3 separate regions of the Homo sapiens genome follow, and all the other regions are linked to region 3. Evidence: promoter capture Hi-C in human tissues and cell types (Jung and others, 2019). All regions are on one chromosome and are shown on one strand. Each heading gives the region's core, a stretch centred on a gene start or on the middle of the fragment in contact. The rest is flanking DNA. Distances are from core to core; before and after follow the strand shown.

The links. The method cuts DNA at HindIII sites, captures the fragments that hold promoters and counts their contacts. A contact is called where the count stands out against the background at its distance.
Region 1: a contact is called between the fragment with the promoter of SLPI here and the fragment with the promoter of SPINT3 in region 3, in 1 of the 25 tissues and cell types used here (IMR-90 fibroblasts).
Region 2: a contact is called between a fragment that was not itself captured here and the fragment with the promoter of SPINT3 in region 3, in 1 of the 25 tissues and cell types used here (pancreas).

Annotation. Positions count from the first base shown.
Region 1 is chr20:45,252,272-45,256,419 of GRCh38, forward strand. It overlaps SLPI (secretory leukocyte peptidase inhibitor), which reads right to left and starts at 2,293. Exons shown (of 4, transcript NM_003064.4): 1 at 2,188-2,293; 2 at 1,304-1,462; 3 at 731-880; 4 at 1-148. The coding sequence starts at 2,272. The coding sequence ends at 144. The region is part of intron 2 of LOC105372630 (a long non-coding RNA gene); the gene reads left to right. The HindIII fragment of the contact is 21,755 bases long and covers 1-4,148 here.
Region 2 is chr20:45,180,522-45,184,544 of GRCh38, forward strand. All of the region lies in intron 1 of LINC02597 (long intergenic non-protein coding RNA 2597), which reads left to right. Among named protein-coding and RNA genes, the nearest start is that of LINC02597, 2.5 kb to the left of the region's middle. The HindIII fragment of the contact is 4,169 bases long and covers 1-3,972 here.
Region 3 is chr20:45,513,681-45,517,917 of GRCh38, forward strand. SPINT3 (serine peptidase inhibitor, Kunitz type 3) reads right to left here and starts at 1,942. Exons shown (of 2, transcript NM_006652.2): 1 at 1,853-1,942. The coding sequence starts at 1,928. The region is part of intron 1 of LOC107987282 (a long non-coding RNA gene); the gene reads left to right. The HindIII fragment of the contact is 13,872 bases long and covers 1-4,237 here.

The DNA.
Region 1 (4,148 bases), core at 1,043-3,542, 260 kb before region 3:
TGATCAACTGGCACTTCTTGAAAGCCTGCTGTGTGCCAAGCCTTTCCCCAAAGGAGGATATCAGTGGTGGAGCCAAGTCTCAGGGTGGAAAGGACCTGGACCACACAGAGCAGGACTCCAGAGCCTCCTCCATATGGCAGGAATCAAGCTGTGAGAGAAAATCAGATAAGAGCTTCAGCATAGAAACCAGCCAAATCATATCCACATCCTTCCTCCTGCCCAAGGATCCTTCTGAGATAGAGAAAATAGCAAGATAGCGCTATAGTTGAGAGAGACTTAGTGTCAGGAGACAAGTCTCATTTTCACCGTAAAACTCTAAACTCAAAGCATTGAACTAGATAATCCTCAAACTCCACTGATCCTTTGTGATTTCACCTCAGAAAACATGATGGAAACAACCTGAATAATAAATTCTTAGTGCACATAGTGCTTTGCAGAGCACTTTCAATCTCATTATGTACATTTTACCGATAAAGAAACTGAGACTCAGAAAGACACTTGCCCAGGACCCCCACCCAGAGACACTAGAATAGAATCAAAGCCACAGGCGATCCTATGGAAATCCTGGCCCTGAGACCTGGAGAACAGTTCTCTTGAAGGACAAGGGAGTCAGACAGAGGCTGTGCTTGGAGTAGGGTTCAGGAGTCCCCCTGCCCATATGCCTGGGCCTCCAGAGGGTTGAGGCTGAGAGGGCTGGAGGGAGCTCAGTGTGCCCTCATCCCCTGCTTACCTTTCACAGGGGAAACGCAGGATTTCCCACACATGCCCATGCAACACTTCAAGTCACGCTTGCACTGGCCATCCATCTCACAGAAATTGGGGGGGTTAAGCATCAAACATTGGCCATAAGTCACTGGGCACTTCCCAGGCTTCCTCCTTGCTGGGTGAGAGTGAGGCTACCGGTCAGAGGCCTTGTACTTTATACAACCCCTCCCATCCCCACTTTTTAGAGTGAGCCCCTGCTCCAGCTTCAGCAGGGGGGATCATCCCCTCCCCACCTCTATCACCACCACCTTCTCCCTAAGGCGGCCCCCAAACATAGCACCTGGCTCTCCTAGAACTTCAGGCCCCCCATTGATGCAGGTGGCCAGCCACCCAGTGCTGACTAGGTGGGAGGCTTCCAACTACCTGGCTATCTAAATGCCCGCTGCTTCACCAGCTGCTGGCTACCTTCCTGCTTAGGGCAGTGTGACTCACTGACGGATTGACAAGGAGGCCTGGCAGGACCCATCACCCAGTTCCATCCCTCTAATGCTGTGTCCCCAGGCTCACTCCTCTCTACCCAGTTCCCCGACCTGCTTACTTGGGTTTGGGGTGTCAACAGGATCCAGGCATTTGATGCCACAAGTGTCAGGACAACATCTCTTCTTCCCTGGACACTGCCAGTCACTCTGGCACTCAGGTTTCTTGTATCTAAGGCACTGGGCAGATTTCTTAGGAGGACAGACTCCAGCTTTGAAGGCTTTTGAAGAGAAAGTCAAGAGGTCAGGAGGAGGCTGGGTACTGAGGACCCATCATGCCTCCTGAACAAAGCACCACTTTTGAGGGGGAGAGACCCTTACCTCAGTAGCTGTCCACAAAGCCCAAAGGGTCATGCCTGCCTGATCTCCAGGTGTATTGATGGGCTTGATTAAATTAGACAAATGGACAGGGGACGTTTCACACCCAAGAAAAGGGCAGCAGGCTTCTAGTCAAGACCTCCCACCCAAGAGCAAAACAAGGCTACACAAAGGCAGAGAGGAAGGCTGGGAGTGATGGAGATGGAGAGAGGTAAACAAAGATAAATAGAACCAGTGTGAGAGAAGTTGAGAGCTAAAGCCCAAGGCAGAAGCACAGAGACAAAATAGCAGAAGCAAAGACACAAGGAAGCAGAGTCAGAAACTAATGATTTGAGAGTCGCAGACAGGTGAAGAAGAAGGCGGAGTATGAGAGAGAGAGAGAGAGAGAGAGAGAGAGAGAGAGAGTGGGACCTGGGCTGACAGCATGGCTGCATAGAGGAAGCATTTCCAGAAGCTCAAACTGTCACACAAACCTTGGAGCTCAGCCAGACATGTATTCCACCCTCAGGGAGGTCTCCCGAAACTAAGCTGAGGGATCAGAGCCTACAGAAGGGGACACACCCACACCACAAGGAGACCCCACCTCTGACCCTGCAGCCCAGATTAGACCAGAGTGACTCCAACTTACACTTTCCAGAGCCTTCCACAGCCCAAGGTGCCAGAGTTCCCAGGGCAAGCAGCACCAGGAAGGGGAAGAGGCCGCTGGACTTCATGGTGAAGGCAGGAGTGACTCTGATGGCCAATGCCAAACCTCACTATTTATTCTTTCACCAGTGGGTGTGGCCCCACCAGAATTCTTTCGGCCTCTCCCAGCTACTATTGCATAAGCAGGAAACGTAGCCAGAGACCAGAAATCCTGACACCAAGGAGATTGTTTATCTTTCCTATGCCAGGTAAGGCTATGAGGCCAACACAGCAACTATCAGAAAAGAAAGGGAAGAGATTGGCCTGGGAAGTTGGTTGATTAAAGAGGCCATCTCAGTGTCCATCTGAGCCCTAAACATCACAAGATCCCAGGCCATTAGCCTTATAGGTGGAGAGAGGGAAGAAGTGGTCAATTGCAAAGGTGCTACCCGGACCTGGAACTAAAACCAGACACAGACTCCCTGCTGAGACTTTGTGCAATACATTCTATTCTCACATTGCTAATTCTGATTCTCACATTACTGGACTCTCAGGCATTGTGAAACTCTGCTGATTACTCAATGCAGTTTCTTTCTCAAAAGTTCAGCTCGTTCAACCAACTGATACTTAGTTCCCTGAAATATTTACACCGTTATATCCCCAGTGCCTGTTCTGTGCCTGACACAGGAAAAGCACTCACAAATGAAAGCTGAAGAAGAGCTCCGCTCTCCACAAATCTCTCTGGAGCTCAGTTGTCTCAGCTGTGAAATGAAATGATACTAACAAGTCAGCCCTTCTCAGAGGGTTATGAAATTAAGGGCATGAAGGGACTCTGAATGAAAAGAACAAATGAATAGTATCCCTTCCCACTAAAGAGAATTGAAATGAATCTGAGATAAAGGGGGAAAGCAGCTCATCAGTCACTGTAATCTACATTTAGCTGTGAGATAATTTGAGATCTTAGAGGATTGCTTCCTAAAATTCCCCAAAATCCCTTACAGATCTCACATGACAGCAAAAAATTAAACCCATTCTATTTGCTACCCAGTCTGCATAGGTTGCTTCTAATTATAAAGAGAGCGACCATTATCTCTAAAATTCAGCCCATAGCTGAGTGTAGGGTCGCACACTTGCTGTCTCAGCTGCCCAGGAGGCTGAGGTGTATGGATTCCTTGAGAGTAGGAGTTTGAGACCAGCCCTGGCCACATATTGAGACCCCATCTCTACAAAAAAATGTAAAAAATTAGCCAGGCATGATGACGTACGTATGCCTGTAGTCCCAGCTACTTGGGAGGCTGAGCCAGGAGGATCGCTTTAGCCCAGGAGTTTGAGGCTGCAGTGAGCCATGATTGTGCCACTGCATTCCAGCTTGGGGGACAGAGCGATACCCTGTCTTAAAAAAATAAAATAAAATAAAATTCAACCAAAGCTCATCTAGCTACAAACTCCAAGCTCTTGACTCATTATCTTCATGCTTGGAATTCTCCCATTCATTCCTAAGGTGAAGGTTTGTGGAACTTTCCACAGACATGAAAGACCCACTCATTATCAAGTAGCGATGGCCCCACATGAAGTATTTAAGTATTCCACAACCAAACAGGCAACTGGCAGCAGATCCCTTTATACAAAAGTCACTCCATGGTTTGAATTTTGGTGGATCAGAAGACTTGGACATAATCAATCATCAGTCAAATTTTGGTGGAAAAAGAAAAGGAAGAAAATTAATATGCACAAGGTAACTACTATGAGCCAGGTGCATTCACTCTTAGTTGGAGTACTTAGTAGGGTAGGTAAGAGAGAAATGGAGGCTATGATTTCCACCAATGGGTAATGACACTCTCAGGTCAAGATTTTTGTTCTCACTTCCACCACCCAGGGGATAATTTGATTTCTCTCACAGAGTTCCTGTTCTCTCTCTCTCTCTCTCTCTCTGTTTGTTCCTATTTTCCTCAGTGCCACACTCAA
Region 2 (4,023 bases), core at 638-3,137, 330 kb before region 3:
TGCACAGACCCCTGAAGGGAGAAATGCATTTCCTAATTTCACTCAGTAAGTCAAACCCAGAAAAGAACTGGTTCTCTGATTCCCAGACATGGGTTCGTTGTACAATTGTCTGAAAATAGCTGACTTGATCAAATTGTTTCAAATGTAATTTCTATAATTCCAATTGATGCCTCAGTATTTGTCTCCTAATACTTGGAGTCTTTCATTGTTTTCCAATTGTTTAGAATTTCAAAGGAAATTATTAATTAATAGAAATAAGGAATTCACAGCATGATGAGGGCCCAATTTGGGAGATGTGACTTTGGACCAAGTATCTTTTTTTTTTTTTTTGCGACATCTAAGCTTGGTCCTGCCCACCTAGGAGGCTGTGTAACTGTGCAGAGAAGGGAGTCTTTCTACCCACGTTAACTTATCCAGCTTCAAGTCCCTTCCAGGTACCCTCTGTCCTCCGATTCCCTTCTGGAATTCAGGAACAGGTAGTACTATGTCACCTCCCAGACCTAAGTCTTACTCCTAACAGACCTGGATAAGTTCCCTGTTCTCACTAACCTCAGTAACACCATCTGGAAAAGAGAAGGCCTAAGCACGTGGAGTTTTTGAGCCCCTCTAATAGAGCCTCCAAACTACCTAGAGCAAGCTTGTCCAACTTGTGGCCTGCAGGCTGCATGTGGCCCAGGATGGCTTTGATTATGGCCCAACACAAATTCATAAATGAGTTTCTTTGTGATTTTTTTTAGCTCATCAGCTATCGTTAGTGTTAGTGTATTTTATGTGTGGCCAAAGATAATTCTTCCAATGTGGGCCAGGGAGGCCAAAAGATTGGACACCCCAGGCCAGGCGCAGTGGCTCACGCCTGTAATCCCAGCACTTTGGGAGGCCGAGGCGGGCCGATCATGAGGTCAGGAGATCGAGACCATCCTGGCTAACACAGTGAAACCCCGTCTCTACTAAAAATACAAAAAATTAGCCGGGCGTGGTGGCGGGCACCTGTAGTCCCAGCTGCTTGGGAGGCTGAGGCAGGAGAATGGCGTGAACCCAGGAGGCGGAGTTTGCAGTGAGCCAAGATTGCACCACTGCACTCCTGCCTGGGCGACAGAGCAAGACTCCAGCTCAAAGAAAAAAAAAAAAAAAAAGATTGGACACCCCTGACTGAGAGCTTTCTAAGGAGAAATTTGACTATGTGGGCAACTTTTGGGAGGAAGTCAGAAGAAGGGGAAAAATGACTGGATTTGGGGTCCACCTGGCACATTTAAGTCCTCTAAAATGCCATTTGAGTGAGTCACAGTGGCTTAATGAGCTTAGCAGACATCAAGTTTTCAATTACAAGAGAAGACATATATTCTCTGCTCTCCTCCCTTTGTTTCCACCATCTGGATCCAATAATCCAAAACCCAGCAGGGTTCTGGCTTCTTGTCTGAGGCCAGCAGCCCTCTGCTTGTCCCTGAGGCTTTATGGTGATTCCCAAGACGGAACGATAGAGCAGCCACTGGTCAGCCTCAGGAAAAATCAAGCCACTTCTCATGCCCTGTCTAGAACTGAGACAGAGAGACTCTCCTCCAACCAGTCATGTGGGTCAGCCATCTCAAGGGTAAGCAGGTGTCAGCCCTAGGAGGTAAAAACAGGCACCTAGTGTTTATCAGCTCTTAGCATGTCCCCTGATTACACAGCCTTCCATCCAATTTAGAACAGGAAGTACCCCTTGACATTATCACGAACCACCTTCTCACATTAAGGAGGAGAAAACTGAGTCCCAGAGAGGAGAATGAAGGTCTTTCAGTCACAGAGTGCTCCGTAGCCTTGCTGGGCCTAGAACTAAGATGTAGCGCTAACTTCCTAATAAGGTCACTTTGATGGATCCACTTGATCTGGGCCATGAAAGGTGGTCCATTGGATTGAGCCTGACAGCCTAGAGTGATGGAACAGCATAAGGTAATGTGTGAAAGCAAAAACAAAGAGAAGACACTGCAGATGGAAGCAATCTGGCTGAGATAATTTTCTACAACTCTGTGACAAGTCAGCTATTCTCAGTGGAATTTTCAGCACCCCCTTATTCTCTCATTTTAATTATCTTAACTTTCTGTATTTTTTATTCTTATCTCACACGTTTCAATAAAATAGCTTTATAGTATCTTTTAGCCTCTTTCATTGTGGAAAGGGCTGTAGGAGTTTTAGAGACAATCTTTCTACCTCATTCATTTTTACGTTTGTTAGAACTGAATTCCAGAGATAGGAAAGAATTTGCCTAGTTTTTAGCAAATCCACTGTGATACCAAAAAAAAAAAAAAAGCCATGGAAGGCCAGGTGTGGTGGCTCATGCCTGTAATCCCAGCACTTTGGGAGGCCAAGGTGGACGGATTACTTGAGGTCGGGAGTTTGAGACCATCCTGGCCAACATGGTGAAACCCCGTCTCTACTAAAAATACAAAAATTAGCCAGGCATGGTTGCAGGCGCCTGTAATCCCAACTACTCAGGAGGTTGAGGCAGGAGAATTGCTTGAACCAGGGAGGCGGAGGTTGCAGTGAGCTGAGGTCGCGCCACCGTATTCCAGCCTGGTGACAGAGCGAGACTCCATCTCAAAAAGAAAAAAAAAATGCAAAGGAAACATGATGAATTCTGAACTTGTATTTAGTTTTCAGTGAGATGGTAGAGGTTTCATATTGATTCAGATGTTAACCTTTCCCCAGTGACTGCTTTTTAATACCGTTTGCTTCCTTTCTTATTGGATTGTCCAGATTATTTCAATCTATTTGTAGGAGTGCTTATTATTTAAATATGATTCACTATTTGCTTTTATACATTAACAAATATTTTTCTGGTGAGTTGTTAACTACAGTCATGGGTCACTTAGTGACAAGTGATATGGTCTCAGAAATGGGTTGTTAGGTGATTTTGTGGCTTAGTTATGCAATGCATGATTTTATTCTTTTCCTTTGCTTATATCATATTTTCCCTTCCAAAGATTATCAATTTTTATAAAGTCAAATTTTTATCATTCTCAGGAAATCCTCAAATCAGCATTTTACAAAAAAAAAAAAAACAAAGAAAAAACCAAAAACCTCACCAGACTTTTAGGACAACTGGAGTCTTGGCGGTCCACTCTATGATGTTCTTGTATCTTGCACCTTGCAAGAGCATCATAAGGTGGACTTACAGGAACCTAGATGTATAGCTTACTACACAGCTAGGCAATATGGTATAGCCTATTGTTCCTAGGCTACAAACCTGTACACTATGTTATTGTACTGAACAGTGTAGTCAATTGCAACTCAATGGTAAGTACTTGTGTATCTAAACATATCTAAATGTAGAAAAGGTACAGTAAAAATATGGTATAAAATATTTAAAAATAGCATACCTGTATAGAGGACTTACCATGAATGCAGCTTGAAGGTCTGCAAGTTGATTGGTCTTGTGAATCATTAAGTGAATGGTAAGTGAATGTCAAGAACTAGGACATTGCTGTCCATTACTGTAGACGTAAACATTATACACTTAGACTACACAAAATTTATTTAAAAGTTTTCTTTCTGCAATAATAAATTAACCTTAACTTAGTATAAAATCTTTATACACTTTTTTATTTTTAATTTTTTCACTCTTTAGTAGTAAAATTTAGCTTAAAACACAAACACATTGTACAGCTACCCAAAAATATTTTAAAAAAATCCTTATTCTATAGGCTTTCTTCCTTTTAAATTATTATTTTTTCCTTTTAAAACTTTTTTGTTGGCCAGACATGGTGGCTTATGCCTGTAATCCCAGCACTTTGGGAGGGCGAGGCAGGTGGATCACGAGGTCAGGAGGTCGAGACCATCCTGGCTAACACGGTGAAACCCCGTCTCTACTAAAAAATACAAAAAATTTGCCGGGCGTGATGGTGGGCGCCTGTAGTCCCAGCTACTCAGGAGGCTGAGGCAGGAGAATGGCATGAACCTGGGAGGTGGAACTTGCAGTGAGCCCAGATCCTGCCACTGCACTCTAGCCTGGGTGACAGAGCAAGACTCCACCTCCAAAAAAAAAAA
Region 3 (4,237 bases), core at 692-3,191:
TCTGGGGCAGGATTAAAAGTTTCTTTGTACCCTCCTTTTATGTTTCTGTCACCATGTGGGCAGTTTTACTCTTCATGGTAGCTAGTAGAATTTCCAACATTATGTGAAGAAACTAAGGCCAGATAAATGAAGTACCTGTCCTAATGTCAGGCTAGGAAGCAGTAGGACCAAGAATCAAACCCAGCATGGTTCGACTGCAAAGGCTTGCAGGTTCTCCATCCATCTTGGTTGTTGTAAAATGAGTGAATGCACAGATGAATGATCACACCTATGGTGGAACTTCAGGCAGCAGCCTAGGGCTTGGAAAGGTTCAGACTCTGTCTTATCCTCCTACCTGCAAGGCTGACGCTAAGGGTGCAGGAGAATGGGGAAGAGGCAGAATAGCTTATTCAATCCAGGTGGGAGGTGGAGGGGCATGTTCTTAAGACATCCTAGTCACTGCATCATCGGCCCTTAGACCCTTACAGGTGACTCTGTAGGGGCTGGAGTCCCATCTGCTCTTAGTTTTCTCAGTCTTGCTTCTCTGCTCTTCCATTCCATTAAACCAAAGGAAAATCACTTGACTTGCTTCTTTTTTATGTAAAGTAGATAATGACACCCTGTGTGTGTGTTTTGAGTGTGACAGAAGCTGTTCTAAGTGCTTTACAAGAATCTATTAAGAGCTAAGTTATACTGAGAGCTTGACATACATCAGACTATTTGATTAATAAAGCAGAAAAGATGGTTAATCTTTTTTTATAGAAGAAGAAACTGATGCTCAGAGAGGCTATAAATGATGTTCCTGAGGCACAGAGTTTGTAAGTAGAGGAGCCTGGACCAGAACCCAGGTGTGTCTGACTCCAGGAATGCTCATACTGTAAACCACTACATTCTTCTTACTTATGGCAGACATTTTCAAACTTGAGTATGCGTCAGAATCATCTAGAAGGCTTGTTAGAGAGACCCACCTCCACAGTTTCTGATCAGGTGGGACTGGGAACTAGCATGTTTCCAGTTGATACTGCTGCTGCTATTGCTGTCAGACTAGGGGACAAACTCGAGAACCACTCATCTATAAGGTTATTGGGAGGTTTAGAGTTCCATTTATGTCTAAGAATCTATCATTAATAGCTCCATGTACATACATGCAGAGAACTATGCTTGCACATGCAAGAATGTTCACTGGCACATTGACAGTGATAATCTCCAGAGGGTAAGATTTTGATAATTTTTCACCTTCTTTCTTACCCTTTTGTGTATTCTAATATGCATTTTTATACAGGGCATCCTACTGGCTGCTTAAAAATCTTGGAAACTGCTGCCTACCATCCCCATTTCCAGCAGATTATCTTAGCTATAACTGCACTTCATCTCCCCACTTCCATTTGCAGATTCCAAGCTTCCACAGAGAAAGTGGTCCAGGAAGGAGCCTTTTCTGACAAGTGCATCTAACTTGGCTAAGTCCCTCACTCTCAAATTCTGGCTCTGATCTCCTTTTCCCAACCTCTCCTTGCCTGCCACCAGCCCCACCCCAGACATTGAAGGCCCCTTTTCCTGCTTTACTTATTTCATTTTCTATAGCACTTTGATCATCTATCATTTGTATTAGGTATTGTATGTCTCTCTCCCATTAGCATCTTAATTTCACAAAGGCAGGGTCTCAGGCTCTTTGCTTTAACCTCAGCACCTAGGACAGTGCCTGGCACATAACTATGTGCCCAACATATGTCTGATGAAGTGAATTGAACTGAATTGACTCTCAATCCGGTAAGGTAAGAAATGGGCTCTGTTTGTGCTGCATCACCTCCCCCACCACCCCGCCCCCCAGCCTGATTCCCAGTCTATTCTTTGAGATCCCACATTTCATACCAACCTCGTGCTAGTTCTGATCGAAGCTCTAGGCAGAGAGTGAGAATCAGGAGAAACGAGAGAGAGGCCTGAAGCTGCATGGTGCCACTCAGCCAGTGGCTCAGCCTGGGGTTGCCATTTTAGGGAGAAAAGGGACCAAGGGGAGGAGCCTGGCCCCACATCCAGCTCATTCACCTTTAACTCAGGCTTTTCATGGGGCTGGGCTGCCTCAGGAACAGAGTGTTCAGCCAAAGCACAGCTTCACCTCTCTCCTCCTGGCCTTATCTGATCTGGCCACCCAGGCTACTTTAGTACCACTTCAGGGTGGAAGCCTTTTTCACAATAATAAAAAGACAGCAGCCATTTTTGAGTACCTTTCCTTTTCCAGGCACCATGCAAAATAGTTTTCACACATTGCTTCCCTTAAGTCTACACGGGAATCCCACAACACTAACACTCCCATTTTGTAGATGAGAGGAGGTTATGCTACTTTGACCATTGTTACATGGACAGCAAGTTTCAGAGACAAGACTGAGACCCCGGTCTGTCTGCTTCAGTGCCCTCGTATCACTCATTCATTCAACAAACATTCATCAAGTACCCACACTGCACCAGGCAAAGTATTAGATGCTGCCTCCATCCCATCTGGGTGCTCCCAGGAAATTATGGCAACAACACACACAAACACATTGGAAGTCAGAAACAGTCACCTACTTGGAGGAGGAGCAGATTCATTATATTTTAATAGAAATATCAAAAGCACCATGTAGAAGGAGGGCCCAGCTTTGTTTGCTTCAGAGGGTCATGGTCTCTAGAGACACACCCCCAGAATCCAGCACATTCCAACTGTCTCCTTTCCTTGACTCTCTAGAGATCCATTTTTTTTGAAAGACAAAGCCAGCATGCTTTAGGGAGATTTAGTGAGCCTCAGATTTAAAATTTGAGGTTGTGATGGGTCCAGCTATTCTTTTTCAAGAAGCATTCTATCATATATTTATTATTATTTATTTTTAATTGAGAAATAAAAATTGTATAAAGGCAGTCCCCAATTTACAATGGTTTGACTTACAGTGTTTGACTTTATGATGGTGCAAACACAATGCACAGTCAGTAAAAACAGTACTTGGAATACCCATACAACCATTCTGTGTTCACTTTTAGAACAGTATTCAATAAATTACATTAGATATTCAACACTTCATTATAAAAGGGGCTTTGTGTTAGATGATTTTGCCCAACTGTAGACTAGTATAAGTGTTCTGAGCAAGTTTAAGGTAGGTAAGGCTAAGCTATGATGTTTGGTAGGTTAGGTGTATTAAATGCATTTCAACTTCTGATATCTTCAACTTAGGCTAGGTTTATTAGGCTATAATCTCATCATAAGTTGAGAAACATTATATATTTATGAGGTACAATATGATGTTTTGAAATATATGTGTGTATATATATATAGAGAGAGAGAGAAATTTTCTCTCTTAGCAATTTTCAAGTGTACAATATGTTATTAACTACGGTCACCATGCTGTGCAATAGGTCTTTACAACTTATTCCGTCTGTCTAACTGAAATTTTGTACCCTTTGACCAGCACCTTCCCAATACTTCCCACCCCCAGCCCCGGGTATCCACCATTCTACTCTCTGCTTCTGTGACTTCAACTTTTTTAGATTCCACATGTAAGTGAGATCACCTGGTATTTGTCTTTCTGTCCCTGGCTTATTTCACGTAACCTGCAGGTTCATCCACGTTGTCACAAATGGTAGGATTTCCTTCTTTTTAAAGGCTGAGTAGTATTCCATTGTGTATACATACCACATTTTCTTTATCCATCCAGTGACGGACACTTGGGTTGATTTAAGTCCAGCTACTCTTGACCTGGGCAAGTCATTTAACGTCTTCCAGCCTCAGTTTTCTCATCTATAAATTGGGGTTAATTATGTTGCTTTAGCATACTTCCCAGAATTGGTGCAAGTGTTCAATAAATATTCAAATGCCTCACACATTGTGAATGCACACACAGGTATATGTCTTTTGCAAGGGATGCGTGTGTGTGTGTGGCAATGATGCCTTTTTGAAAATGGGGGTGCTAACTGGATCAGCAGCATACTTAGTTGCTACAGAAATGTTTTCCCCATCTTTGCACATTAGTTATAGCTCTTCCTTTTCTTTAAATTCCCTAGAACCATGATACTCATTCCTTGGCCATTGCTTTCTCTAACTATAGCTTATACAATTGTTGGTCGATCCTCTCATTATCTATTGATCTTTGCTGTTTACCCCACATTTATTTCCTTGAAGGCACTTCTGAAGCCTACATTGCAACATCTCTTTGGTATAACTTCTTTTGCACTTTGAGGGGTCCACCAGCATTATCCTTGATATCGCCTTTCTTAGCCCTCTTGGGTGATCAAA